Regions from separate parts of the Homo sapiens genome. Here all the other regions are linked to region 1. The links are contacts of gene promoters, found by promoter capture Hi-C in blood cells and fetal thymus (Javierre and others, 2016). All regions are on one chromosome and are shown on one strand. The core of a region is centred on a gene start or on the middle of the fragment in contact, and the rest is flanking DNA. Distances in the headings are between cores, read along the strand shown.

Region 1 (4,938 bases), core at 1,388-3,887:
TCCACGAGGGCTTAGTCTGTTTTGTTCAAACTGGTTCCCCCTCCCAGCACCCACAGCATACACAAGTGCTACCACGACCCCGGCACACACAGGTGCCCCCCACAAGCACATACAGGTGTTCCTCCTCCCGGCACACACAGGTGCCCACCCTCTCAGCACACACAGGTGCTCAGTGAGAATGTGTTCAGTGAATAAACAAGTAAGGACCAAAAGCCATGCCTTCAGACTCCTCACACAATGCCCTATGTGCCTGCCCTCAAGTGCTGGTTCAATTCTTGGTGGTCACGTCCTTCAGTCAGAAGAAAAGATCTAGAAATCTAAAAATGAAATAATACATTTTAGCTACTCTATTTCACCTCCCACAGCTGCCTTTCATAGCAGGGAGGATAAAGAACACAACTAAAAGTTAACATCTTGGTTTAACGGCTCTTTCATTAAAGAGCTCATTTTACTGCTGCTACTTAAGAACTTTCTGCCTTTCCAGGCAAGAAACTAATAACTCATAATTAACTCCTGACCAACAAGACTAAGTTAACCAATCTTGAAAATTAGCTTATTCAGATGTTTTCCAGAGTGTGTATAATAAGAAACTATTTCATATTAATTGAATTGGTGTTGCAAAACTTTCCAGAAGTATTCTGAATGAATTCTAAGGATGCTTTGGCAGATGATCAAGCACATTCGAGAATTTCACAGGAGATAATCTCGTAATAATACCATGTTGTAGGTAATCCATTAGCTGACTCTAGAAACAACAGAATACTAAACCTAGAAAATAAGCCAAAAGCCAGGCTCGGTGGCTCACGCCTGTAATCCCAGCATTTTGGGAGGCTGAGGCAGGCGGATCACCTGAAGTCAGGAGCCAGAAAAGAGGAAGAGATTGATGGAACGTTGAGGGAAATGCCCTGCCTTGGGGCTGCAAGACAAATAAATAACTGGTGCATATTTAAACAGATCGTTTATGAAGATTATTATTATCTCAGCCAAAAAATACACAATATGAACACTGTATAAAAGTCAATTTATCACATTCTCTGAGTCAGACTGTTCTTGGCTTATTGCAAAAGTTATCAGTGCACTGCACGAACCCCGTTCCCAAGCCAGACTTGAGCTACTCTCCACCCTCCAGAAATCACTCCATTGCAGCCTCTGAATTTAAGTGAATTTAACACGTAAGTATCTGCAATTTGAAAAGTCACTTTTCACTTATTTTAGCCCAACCCTGATAAAGTGACTGAGAGAGCTGAGAATAATGAATTTGAAGATTCGCTATGCCCCATTATGCAGAATTCTAAAAATCTTTTCTTCTTAAAACATTTTTATTATCACAATGAGTGACGTGTTTCAAGTTAACATGTAAAATCGGAGAACTCGAGACAGAAGAGGACCTTAGAGATCCTTTAATTCAATATTTTAGAGAAAAATGGGTAGAGGATAAACTAACTTGCTGATCACCGTGTCGGTATTCATGCTGTGAAAGTAATAAACGGAACACCAACTGAGAAATGATCCCCGAATGCTGTCAGGTACTTCAGTCTTGCAAAAACTACTACAGATTAATCAGTCCTGCTCATCCGTTTAACTCAGCTATGTAAACAAGCAGAGCTAGACTATGCTCAAACCCTAAATATTAGCGTTACCACTCGCCTGCCACATACTACAGCATCATTAGTTATGAAAGTGTTTTAATACAAGATCTTCATGTTTGTGTAAAAGAATTACTATAAAACAGACCTAAAGGCAAGTTACCCATATTCCAGAATAAGTGAGTGCCAAAAATATTCACCCTTCATTACAGTACAAATGAGACAGGCAGTAATAATGAGACTGCATTTAAAGTTGTTTTTGCACTTAAAATTTAAGTCTATACTCCTCATCTGCATCAGGCCCCGGCCTGTTTGGTAACCTCAATATTCCTTTACTAAAGTGACAGCATCACCACCCTTTGAGACACAGATGCCCGGTGGACATCTGTGCCTGCAGCAGGAACGCGGGTGTCCGCGGGTTTCTGCAAAACTCCACCATGACCAAAGCTGCATCTCCAGCTGAACAGGTCTAACCCTTGCTTCGGAAGCCATCTGTCCCTGTCTCCCTGACACAGAATCACGGCCTCCTATGCCGTAAGGCTCCGAACATCTGTAAAATCAGCGGGGTGGACTAACGCAGAATTCTTTTTCCAGCTCTCAAAATTCCGCCTCATTGCCGGAGTGGCAGGGCGGTGCAGAGAAAGAGCCCTGGGCTTGACACCGCTTGAAAAGCCCACGTTCGCATTGCTCTGACCACCCCTCCAACTCCCGGGGACTACAGGAGTGCGAGGGGGCCCGCTGCGCCCCACTGTCCCTCGCGGGCTCCTGGCCCACAGAGCGCAGCACAGCGCCGCCGCTGGGAAAGGGCCGATACAGGCCTAGCCGCGCGGCGCGGCGCGGCGCGTCTCTCGGGGTGCGGGTCCCCTCCGCCCGCGGCCCCGGACCGCGACCCCCGCTCCCCGCCCGGCCCCCGCCCGGCTCCGGCCTGGCCCGGCCTCTGACCTGCTTTCCGCCGCCCGGCGGTCCCTCGGCGCGGCAGGCAGTTGCAGCCGCCAGTCCCCAGCCCGCTGTCACCTCCGCCCCTGGAAGCGGCGGGCGGGTCGATCCCGTGTGAGTCAGCGCGCCGCCCCGCCTCCCGCTCAGGCTTCCGCCTCTGCCGGCGCGGTCCGCGCGGCCCCGGGGGCGCCAAGCTCCGCTGCCCGCGCGCCCACCTCTCCGGCGCCCGCCCCGCGCTCGCGCCCCCTGGCGGCCGGCCCGGCCCTGCTCGCCTCGCGACGTCAGAGGGGCGTCGCTCCCAGAACGGCCACCGGGGAAACTGAGGCACGGGGGCCCGCCCCCGCCGCAGCGCGCCGACACGGCTCGTCGGGCCTCGGCCTCACGCAGTCCTACGTGCAGCCCCGGCTGCGGACAAGTTCCTCCACTCTTGCTGTTCCCCCACTCCCGACACCACCCTCCAACCTAGAAAAAAGTCAAAATTCCATTCAGAGAAGTCCAAGTCGATTCCTGTCTGCGTGTGATGCTGTCCTCTTTGCTACCCCGAGGCAGTTTCCCTTATTATGCCACACAATACTCGCTGGGGTTCGCCTCTATCTGTCCCATTTTTTTCTGAGGAAAGTCTCTCAGGACATCTTTGAGAATTTGAGAGCAAGAAATGACAGAAGCAAGAACTGGGCAGGGCTGTCAGAACTCCTCCTCCGACTCAGTTTCTGAATCCCCGCAGTATTCCCGTTGTTTGTTTAAAGACCACGAAGTTACACAGCTTGGCTATGTTGCTGGAATTGCTGCGCCTCACGTTTCTGGAATCTACCTAGAGGATTCTGAAGAAGGCGGCGAGTCTATGACTGTGCATGCACAACAAAAATAAATATTTCACAAATCTCATCCCATGCTGTATATGTTTCTCCTTCCCTTTGCTTTTTAAAAACTTGTGGTTAAATATATATCACATGAAATTTACCATTTTAATCCTTTTTAAGTGTACAGTTCAGTGGCATTAAGTACATTGACATTGTTCTGCAACCATCACCACCATCCAGCTCCAGAACTTTTTCATCTTCCCAAACTGAAACTGTACCCATTAAACACTAACTCCTCATTCTCCAGCCCCTGGTAACCATCATTCTACTTTCTGTCTCTATGATTACTCTGGATACCTCATATAAGTGGGATCATACAATATTGTCCTTTTGTGAGTGGCTTCTTTCACCTAGCATAATGTCTTCAAGGCTCACCCATGTTGTAGCATGCGTTAGAATATCCTTCCTTTTGAAGGCTGAATAATACTCAATTGTACGTATATAACATCTTTGGTTTATCCCATCTTTCTGTGGACATTTGGGTTGTTTGTACCTTTAGGCTATGGTGAATAATGCTGCAATGAACATGGGTGTACAAATATCTGAGTCCCTACTTTCAATTCTTTTGGGTATATATCCAGAAGAATTGCTGGATCATGTGGTAATTCTGTGTTTAATTTTTTGAGAAGCCACCATACTGTTTTTTTTTCCTTTGCTTTTTGAAGCATGTTAACACTGTAAAGAGAACATTTTGTAGTAAAATATCAACGTTCGGAGAGTCTTTAAAATTCTTAGCAATGCTTCATTTGCCTGTAAAACTGTGACTTTTCGGCGGATCACGAGGTCAAGAGAACGAGACCATCCTGGTCAACATGGTGAAACCCTGTCTCTACTAAAAATAAAAAATTAGCTGGTCATGGTGGTGGGTGCCTGTAGTCCCAGCTACTCGGGAGGCTGAGGCAGGAGAATCGCTTGAACCCGGGAGGTAGAGGTTGCAGTGAGCTGAGATCGCGCCACTGCACTCCAGCGTGGTGACACAGCGAGACTCCGTCTCAAATAAATAAATAAATAAATAAATAAATAAATATTTTAAAACAAGTGACTTTTCTTTCCTCAAGAAAGTAATTAACATTGCAAATCTATTGTCTTTATTTTTGGATAATGTTATTAGCCAAAATAAAAATAACTTATTATTCAGTTTCCTACAATTTTGTTTTCTGTGGATGTAGCTTTCTAAAGTTGTTTGGAGTCAAGTATGCCATATGAAATTCAGATGAAAAATCAAGCATTTCGTTTTATTTATTTTTTTCGCCACGTTGGTCAGGCTGGGCTTGAACTCCTGACCTCAGGTGATCCACCCTCCTCGGCCTCCCAAAGTACTGGGATTACAGGCATGAACCACTGCGCCCAGCCTGGGGATCGGAGTTTTTTGTTTGTTTGTTTTTTTGAGACGGAGTCTCGCTCCGTCTCCCAGGCTTGAGTGCAGCGGCGTGATCTCGGCTCATTGCAAGCTCCGCCTTCTGGGTTCCCGCCATTCTCCTGCCTCAGCCTCCCGAGTAGCTGGTACTGCAGGCGCCCGCCACCACGCCTGGCTAATTTTTTTTTTGTATTTTTGT
Region 2 (4,938 bases), core at 1,990-4,489, 390 kb before region 1:
GCAATGCCAACTTCTCGCCCCACCTCAACACACTGGGCAGACCTTCTACATGGAGCTGTGCCAATCTGTGAGAGGGATATCTGGCTTTCAGCTTATTTCCAATCTATAGCTGATCTTTCTTCTAAGCCTTGGACCTTTCTTTTTCTAGTCATCTATGACCCTAAGAATGGAACACCATTATTTTCCCTGAAAAAATAATCCCACCTATTGCTAAGTGTCCTGGTACTCCAAAATGATTCAGAGCCCCAGCAACAAATATCAAGCCTGTGTTTCAGAAGTTGCTTTTGTGCCTTAATACACTCAAGCTGACAGTTCTTTACAAATGGATTCTAAACTCCAGTATTTACTATCTATGACATACTTTATGCTGTATACCTAAAGAGTGCCCCTGGCCCTGCTTCATGACCACACACTGAGGGGCGGCTAATTTTTTTATACTTTTTCAGACTATCTGGCAATGGTGGCTGGGTCTACACAGAGTCTTGGCAGAAGCAGCATTCTTAATACATGCTTTTATTTCTTGGGAAAGAAAGTTTACCCTGAAACTGCAAAGGTGGGAGTGTCTAGCTAGAAACCAATCTAGTCTCCAATCCTGAAGGGCCCTTCCAGATTTCTAATTTAAACTGATTGAATCCCAAAATTGGCATTAGCAAATAAAATCAGTCTCAGTGAAACATAATCCTTGGAATCTCTCTAAAGGATTTGATGATTGGAATAAAAGCGTAGGGTAGACACTTTGTATGATGTTCTTGGACAAAGTTTTGTTGAAATTTGGGAAATTAATCTTATTCAAAACACCTCCCTAAATTAGACCTTTTCTGAAGAGTGTGTCTCCCCAGGAAAATTTCTCATCTACTGACCCAATTCAAGGTAAAGTAACATGGAAACTAATAGTTAATATAAAATCAATGTCTAAAAAGAAAAATCAATGTCTGGTGCCTGACACACAATAAGCACCTCTGATTTGTTTGCTAAATGAATGAATCTTTTGTCACATAACTGTATCAGCTACAATCACTGGTGAGCCAATGGAAGCAAGTGATGCCCAAGTACAGTTTAAATTTCTGCATCAATCTAATCACTAGATTCTATTTGGATTTAAAAGCTTGAACCTTCGGCCAGGCACGGTGGCTCACGTCTGTAATCCCAGCACTTTGAGAGGCCAAGGCGAGCAGATCACCTGAGGTCAGGAGTTCGAGACCAGCCTAGCCAACATGGTGAAACCCCGTCTCTATTAAAAATACAAAAAAATTAGCCGGGCATGGTGGTGTGCACCTGTAATCCCAGCTACTCAGGAGGCAGGAGAATCGCTTGAACCTGTGAGGCGGAGGTTGTAGTGAGCCTTCGCTGGTTTGAGCCACTGCACGGCAGCCTGGGCAACAAGAGCAAAACTCCATCTCAAAAAAAAAAAAAAAAAAAGCTTGAACCTTCCTCTTGGCCAACTGGAATCCAAGAGTAATACCTTTCCTCAAGAGCATGGGAGAAAAGAAACTAACCAGATGAACAGGTCCCGGTTAGCTGCAAGCAATCCACATTCCTCTGGTTATTTTCTCCTGCCTGCTACCAACAAAAAACCGGAAGCTTAAAAGGTTAGTTACTGGATGTTCAATCAGAAATACTCTACACAGTATCACTTATCACAATTTGACACATTCTTTCCTACTTCCCCCCACAAAACCTCATGTATTTCCAATAAAGGGTTTGTTTACTCATCTTTCACATCACACAAGGCATATAAAATCCATCAGAAGAGTTGTTCATAGAGACTACGGGTCATATGCTGGCTAGAGCTACTAATAAGCAAAGATAAATTGAGCCTCTTAGCTTATCGTGTTTCCATGCATTTATTCAAAACTGATCTTGTATAAGGGGAATGTTCAGCAATTGCATTGCTCTGCTGCAGTCAATGGTGTATTTGGCTACCAATTCTGAACGGTTTGGCTTCGGAGGCCTGGAACTCCTCACCCCCAAGAGAAAACCGGACTGTGGGAAGCTACTTTGAACATTCTATATACACATCTAAATCTAACTCAACAATTCTAACTCGATAAAAGTACACCCTTATGGAGAGGACCTGGGCATAAGCTATGCCAAATATAAAAATGAATATGGCTCCCCAAATTTGTGGGCCAATAAATCTGCCTTTTACAGAAAGATGAAATATCTAAGTAAGAATTTCTGAAAAACCTCAATGTGAAAAACTTCTACCTGGCTTTGGAGAAAAGCCAAACAACCCAGTAGAGAGGTAAGTGGTTTGGTAAAAGACAAGCCACATTTGAGTCAAAAAGCCTGAGTCTGAGCCTCAGCTTTGCTAGTTGTGTGATCTTGGGTATGTCACTTAACCTCTTTAAGCTTCAAAATTGTCATCTATAACATGAGGCCAAGAATGACTGGCTCACAGGGCTGTTGTGGGGATTAAAAGAGATAAGATATGTAAAAGCCATTGGTAATTTATAAGATGCTAGAAATACAAAGATTTTTATTGTATTCAAAATGATTCTATATTTGTTCATATCTAAGAATTTACAGATCATGGTAGCATTGCCTCCTGTATAAGTCATTTCACAAATATACATGGGCAACTAACTGTCCTTAGCCACCAATAAATCAGGGTTAATTTTGTATTTTTTGTTTTCCTTTTAAAGTTTCTCTGTGGCTATAATGATTTACATGTCCCACTATTAATCTGAAGGTCATATGTTCAGGGACAAGCTTTACTGTGAAATTCTGTGCCTTGCCTGGTTCTTGTAATCTGCTTTTGGGAAGCTATATGGAAGGCTTGAGAGTCTGATACACTGAGTTCAAATCATAACTGTGCTACTTAAACTGTGTGACCTTGGACAAGTTATATAACTTCCCTAAGCCTCCTTTCAACTGTAAAATAATGAAAATGGTTTCTACTTCATGAAGTTGCTTCACAGATTAAATGAATAAATGTATGTAAGGTACTTCAGATAGTGCTTGGCACACAAGATCACTGAATACTTATTACTAGATGCAAGAAAATCAAATAAGCTAATGTTTCCATTTCCTAATCTTTCACAGGTGAATATGTATAGATACCATTTACATCTGGAAATTGGAGATTTATCTCCCTCTGCTCTTCCCCTCTTTATTATATAAGTGGATATTTGCTTTACCACTTCAGAGCCAACAACAGCAGCTTGATGATAGGTGGGTACTTCGCCAGAGGATTTTGAGAAGGGTTCTGACTGTTTTGGGTTGCAGAATGTCCCCATAGATAAAGTCTGGCGCTTGCCTTTGAGGCCCAGAAAAGGAAACTGGGATTTATCTGGGCTCCCAAGCCTCTCCATTATAGCCATGGAAATAGCTGGTTGAATAACCATGATCCAGCAAGGCTACACTGACTTCTCATGGTCCCTCTCAAGGATATTTAAAGTCAACTTGACCCTGATAAGTAGCTGAGGATGGACAGGCCTGCATGTCAAAAGGCAATGTCAGCTTTCATTTGCAAACATTGTGGTTGCCCTTTAGGCTCCAACAACATGGATATCTGCCTCCAGTCTTAAAGACTGGGCTGCTTTTCCTCCCCACTCATCCACTTATTAAAAGAAGAAGGATAGCTGCTGGGGACAAGCAAACTGGGAAGTCTTTTCTGAAGGAAGAGATTTGAATTTTACTTTCATGCCTGCACAAAAGTGTTTAACATACTCACTGACACTAAATCATACTGGCCTCACCTAGTTCTTCCCTCTAAGTCATTTAAATCCCAGCATTAAGTGCAAGTGAAAATGAGCCTTCTAAAATAAGCTTTCGTATTGTTGACAACTCCTGAGCATTTTTTTCTCAAATCATTATTTCCTTAATAGAGGGCTTTCAGGCATAACTGCTATGTTGTATGACTAATTTTTAAAAAACAAAAATTCCAAAGTTTATGTAAATGAGTAAGAACTGTTCTTCAAAATAGTTACCTTGGAAGGCTACAATTGACTTATTCCAGCAAAGCTGTGGTTATGCAAAACCTTTCTGGAACTTCTCTTTCAGAGGTGTTTCCTCAACGGGTTTATAGGCCTCAGAAGTAAAGCAGTCTCCTTGCTTTCCAGTCCCACCTTATTTTGATGCCAAGCAGTATTACCCATTTTGACCTCCCACTTTATTCACCATATTTGATTCTGAATAGTCTTTGTTCTTGCAAAATCAATTCCATCTTGTCACAGGGCAAAGATTTGCCTCCCTTAAGGACATGCACCCAAATATTCTAGAAGCATTTTTAACAGGGATTTATAAAATGTTTATAGCAACAATAGCACTATGTAAATATATGGAGTAAGGAGATAACCTCCCGTTCTGTTATAATGGAACAGTGGTTAAATTGATAAGTTACAGTAATATTTCTAAGACAAATTATTACACTGTATTTTTCAAGCCATTACATAATTTTCACTGTTTTCATTGATCTGTTTTCCATTCAATACTCATCCAGAAAAACAGCATCCTAAACCCTGCACTCTACTCACAGTCTAAGTCTAGGGAGGTTACTCTGCAGCTAGATTATATTAACTTTTGGATATACGGCATTATTAACTCACAAGTCATTCAACCTAGAGTCTATACATATAATGTGTGCATCTTTTTTATTTATACTTGTTTTACATTTCAATGTTGTTACTTCTCTCTCATGGATTTTACAGTTTATTTCTATTTCTCCCAATTGACAAGGACATTTAACATTCTAATGTCCATTTTAGTCAAGTGCATTTACCCCGTTTTCAATGGATATGGCCCTTGTTAGGAGTTACCTTGTGTTAAAATACTCCTGCCAGTTTGCTGTCATTCACAAAGCTTAATGAGCGCTCCCCCCATTTCCTTATCCACATTCTAATGAAAAACATGAAACAGTACTGGAACCAAAGGGAAGTAAAAGGGATCTACTTTGCCTTTCCCAAGTTGATTCTCTCCTCCTTTTGAATACATAAC
Region 3 (4,938 bases), core at 1,490-3,989, 350 kb before region 1:
GTTAAAAACCTGTTTTGAAACATAGGTTTCTATAACTTGTTGCAACATGTTGAGTTACAGCAAATGAAATAGAGAAATACTCTCAGTGCTTTTTAATTTGCCCTGCTGACTGGAAACCTCGGAACTCAGCCCTATGAGCTGTTAACCAGATAAGCATTGCTGGTTTTTGTAAAGAATTATGCTTGACAAATGCTTGAGGGCATATGGATTTATTGAAGGAAGTATTGTCCAAACCAGACTGACAAAGAAAGTTTTACAAAGAAAATATAATGAAAAAATGTTGGGATTAAAATGTAGGTCTTTTCTGTTTTATGATGTAGTTATGAAATGTAAATTAGAGGATGTTTCAATGAACTTTTGAATTATAAGTTAATATAGTTCATAAACCATAGGAATTAAGTACTATTTTAAAAATAGGAATTATACTTCCACTCAAAAACACCTATTTTGTGGAACACTAAAGTTTGAAATATATATGTATAGAGATTAGACTTAGAACTCACAGAAGGTAAATTCAAGAAATTTTTAAAAATTACTCCAAAACATTATTTTAGTTCTTTCCATATCTATTTTGTTCTAGGAACTGAACTGGGTTCTGAAATAATAAAAATAACTGGTATCTGTATAATGTTGTGGTTAATCCCAACTTTATGCAACTATTCTATTCAATGTGGTTTCTGGGGGTCCAGATAAAATATAACACTTGAAGCAGAGTGGGGATTGAGGGACAGAGAAAAAAAAACTGAGAACTGAGAATTGAAGAAGAAAGGCAAATTAGGAAGTTCAACAAGGTTAGGAGAGTAGTGGAGCCAAAAAAACAATAGTCATGAGAACTGAATATAGAAACTGGACAATGGCTAGATCTTATATGACAATTAGAACTCTGACCCACAACCTCTACAGCAACCAGCCGAGAATAATCAGGACTTGGTCAATGACTCAGTTTCCCTGTTTTTTGCCGCCTCCTTTCTTCAACTCAGAACCCACTAAAGACAGCCAAATATGCTACCTACCCCAAACCAATCACCTAAGAGACACTACTTTTGTTAGCCCACCTCCAGCTTTCCCATGCTAATACCCTCAAGTCAGAGTATACATGAAACCTTCCCTTTTTGTTCACTACTAAGCTTTCCTGGCCAGGTGCAGCTGCTCATCCCTGTAATCCCAGCACTTTGGGAGGCTGAGACAGGAAGACTGCTTGAGCCCAGGAGTTCAAGACCAGCCTGGACAACATAGTGAGACTCCATCTCTACAAAGAATTAAAAAAAAATAAGCTGGGCATGGTGGCACGTGCCTGTAGAGCCAGCTACTCAGGAGGTTGAGGTGGGAGGATCGCTTGCTCAGGAGGTCGAGGCTGCAGTGAACCACGATCGCACCACTGCACTCCAGCCTGGATGACAACAGAGTGAGACCCTGTAGGTAATTAAGTAAGTAAGTAGTTTTCCTAATGTCCTGACAGGCTTTGAGTCGGCCAAATGCAAGTGATGGTGACTGACTCCCTTGTCATAGTAAGCTTTGAATAAATAAAGCATTTGGGTGGTCTTCCTCCCCGATCCCCCCCATTCATTCATTTGCTTATTAATTATACATTAGTTGTGTTTTATCTGCCAGGCAGTGGCCAGTATTGGGAATATGTGGAAGCAAATAGTCCCTGCCTTCAAGGATATTCTGTCTAGTGGGACAGACAGACAGACATATACGTATAATAGTAATTCAACGTGCTAAGTGAAACAATAGGCATGTATAAAAAAGGTGTAGTAGGTCAAGTAGGGCTTTTAGGGGAAGGCGACCCTTAAGATGGGTGGTAAGGGATGAGTAGGAGGTGATTTGGCTAAGAGGCTGGGACGGTTATTCAAGGCAGGTGGAGGGGCAGAATGAGCAAAACAGGACGCGTTGCTGGAGCGTGGTAAGGAAGGCAAGTAGCGGCAGAGGACGGCGGTAGGGCGGATCGTGGGGCGCAATGGATGTGCCACGTTGGAAAGAGCTTGGACTTTATGCCGTCCTCCTGGAAATGAGATAACGGCTGGTGTAAGCAAGAAAGAAACACACACACACCCACGCGCGCGCGTCGTTTCCTTTGTGTTACTGTAAGGTCAAGGAGGGCGGCGACACAGAAATTCATGATGACTGGCATAAGCAGACATTCAATGAATGAATGAATGGACATAAGCACTTTGGTGTAAACGTCATTGTCTTCGATTTCTGTTTTCTCACGGGGCAAGACAGTGAGGTCGGGGCATCAGTTTGGGAGGTGATAGGGAAGGTTTAAGGTGAGAGAACTGCCATTCTGGTAGGGAGGGTCAGTGGGCACAAAACCAACAATAGGTTATGGGCAAGGGATGCGCTTCGGTCGCGAACACCCTGAACCCACCTACCGGAGCTACTCTGTCCCAGGAGCGGCCGTGGAGAAAGCAACCAGCCGAGAGTTCGCGCCCCAGGGAGGGAAGCGGGCACAGGGCCGCCCAGCGCCACTCACCTGTGAGCTCTCCGCGGGCCCTGCAGGCGGAGCCTCGGTACGACGCCTTTCCGATTGGGCGCGGCTCAAAGTCCCGGGGCGGGCATCAGAGGCCGAGCGCTCTAGGGGATTGGCCACCCTGGCGGACGGACGTGCTGCTGACCGAGCTGGTTCGCCCCCGGTTCGGCTCGTGGAGAGCCGGCCCCTCCGTGAGTCTTCTGTCAGTCATTGGCTCCCTGCGGTTTCCTTGGGGACGTGGCGCCGCCGCCGGCCGGGCCCTCCTTCCGGCTGGGCAAGGGGCCGCGGGGAGCAGCTCGGGACTGAACCGAGAGGTGCCGAAGGAACCGGCGGGCCGCTTGATCCCGTGAGTGTGGGCGCGAGAGGGCTGTGGGACCCGGAGGGACGGGGAGAGGAAGCGGGACCCACACCCCGCCACCTGGGGACGACCGGTTCCTAGAGGACAGAGCTGGCCCACGAGAACGCCCCGCTCCCAGGATGCCCGGGTAGGGTCCCCTGGGCCTGAGGAACCAGAGCAGACGGAGCGGGAGCCTGGGGAGGAGGTGGGAGCCGTGGAATTCCCGTGCAGGTTTGTCTCGTGGGCTCAGTCGGACAGAAGCCTGAAATCAAATCTTTCTAGGCTGCAGACGTAGGAGATGCCTGGGACAAGGAGGCCACCTTCTCAGGGCAAAAGAAAAAGAAGGTGACAGGCGTTGAGACCACCGAAGGGAACCCATGGCTAGGTAAGGCTGCACACTTTCCCTCCGGCTGGGAGCACGGCAGAGGATGGCAGGCAGGTTGGGGGGCCCTGGGAGGCTGTCCCAAGTGAGGTTTGCCCTGGAGCTGCACTTGGACTTTGTATTCTGGTTAGTTGGATGCAGAGACGATCAAAGTTGTATTATTTCGAGGGCTGATAAATAATAGTTTCTAGCCCATAGACCAGGAGTGGTAGAGTGAGTCGGCTTGCTCAGCTCTGTAAAGTGCAAGGTTGTAACATTGATTCAGATTCGCATCTGAGCAAGGCTAGGTGCCACTTGAGGAGGTTAAACAAAGAAGTTTTTTTGTTTTTTGTTTGCAGTGAACTTTAAAAGCAGACAGACCGAGGTCCTTTTGAATCAATATACAAAGTGAACTTCACAGATGAATACACTTATCCATACATTATAATAACCTGAAGCTTTTAAAAAATATTAATGTGGATCTACATGCACCAATAAGGGAAAGTTATAAAATAAAGTGGGGGAAAGATGCAGAACAGCAGGTATGGTGGACTACCATTTGTGTAAAACCGAGGGAATGGATACGCACACACACACACACACACACACACACACACACACAGAGATATATTACTGTAAATATATTGGTGTATATTTATGCTTGTGTATCCGTAGAATATCCCTGGAAAGATACACAGCAACGGCCAGGTGCAGTAGCTCACGCCTGTAATCCCAGCACTTTGGGAGGCCAAGGCAGGCAGATCACCTGAGGTCAGGAGTTCAGGACCAGCCTGGCCAAGTAGAAACCCGGTCTCTACTAAAAATACGAAAATTAGCCGGGTGTGGTGGCAGTCACCTGTAATCCCAGCTACTGGGGAGGCTGAGGGAGAAGAATCGCTTGAACCCAGGAGGTGGAGGTTGCAGTGAGCTGAGATTGCGCTACTACACTCCAGCCTGGGCAACAGAGCAAGACTCCATCTCAAAAAAAAAAAAAATTACACAGCAACTGGGTAGTAATGTTTGCCTCTGAGAGATTGTGGGGTCAGGGCAAGAATCACTTTTCACTATACAATATATCCTTTTAAACTGATTTGTCTTTTACTATGTGCTTGTATAATCTGGTAAAACATTTTTAAAATCAGTTAAATAAATTTTCTGACCATCCTGTTTCTTGACAGAATTCTTGGTTGGGAATACTGTAGTTGCTCTGATTCTCCAATGTTATGAGGTTGCCCAGGGAGACTGGTGATCTTTTCACTAACATGAGATTAAGTCTTTGAATTGCACTCAAAGTGCAGTTTGGAAAAAGGGCAGATAAGGCTTTTCTGATATATATAGTAGAAGCACCATGAGCTTCTTCTAAAATTAGAGATGACAAGAACATTTAGACTTCTGTTGGCATGGATTTTTGCCTTTATTAGGAGGGTTTTATCCAATTTTAAAACGATATTTAAGCACTCAGTTGTAGAAATGTTTCAGACTTACTAATGTTTGTCTAATTTCAGGATCAGTTTTTCCTACCTCTGCCCAGCCTCCTGGTACTTCACTGTGCCCACAGTGAGTCCATTTCTCCGTCAGCGGGTGGCATTCCTGGGACTCTTCTTCATATCCTGTCTCCTTTTACTTATGTTAATCATAGACTTTCGACATTGGAGTGCTTCATTACCACGAGATAGGCAATACGAAAGGTGAGTCAGCTTTAGATTTTGGCACTCAAGTCATAAATATTTTCATAAGCTGTTTAACACACTACTGACTTTGACCCTT

What was found. The method cuts DNA at HindIII sites, captures the fragments that hold promoters and counts their contacts. A CHiCAGO score of 5 or more calls a contact.
Region 2: a fragment that was not itself captured here is called in contact with the fragment with the promoter of DNMBP in region 1 in 1 of 17 cell types (monocytes); the score reaches 5.7 in monocytes.
Region 3: a contact is called between the fragment with the promoter of ENTPD7 here and the fragment with the promoter of DNMBP in region 1, in 1 of 17 cell types (monocytes). The highest score is 7.0, in monocytes.

The regions. Positions count from the first base shown.
Region 1 is chr10:100,007,310-100,012,247 of GRCh38, forward strand. It overlaps DNMBP (dynamin binding protein), which reads right to left and starts at 2,638. Exons shown (of 17, transcript NM_015221.4): 1 at 2,529-2,638. RefSeq lists a silencer at 2,411-2,930. The HindIII fragment of the contact is 18,497 bases long and covers 1-4,938 here.
Region 2 is chr10:99,613,957-99,618,894 of GRCh38, forward strand. All of the region lies in intron 1 of SLC25A28 (solute carrier family 25 member 28), which reads right to left. Among named protein-coding and RNA genes, the nearest start is that of SLC25A28, 4.0 kb to the right of the region's middle. The HindIII fragment of the contact is 1,059 bases long and covers 2,711-3,769 here.
Region 3 is chr10:99,656,770-99,661,707 of GRCh38, forward strand. ENTPD7 (ectonucleoside triphosphate diphosphohydrolase 7) reads left to right here and starts at 2,740. Exons shown (of 13, transcript NM_020354.5): 1 at 2,740-2,819; 2 at 3,093-3,195; 3 at 4,677-4,859. The coding sequence starts at 3,188. It also overlaps a transcript of SLC25A28 not described here. RefSeq lists silencers at 2,419-2,628, 2,749-2,968. The HindIII fragment of the contact is 2,116 bases long and covers 1,512-3,627 here.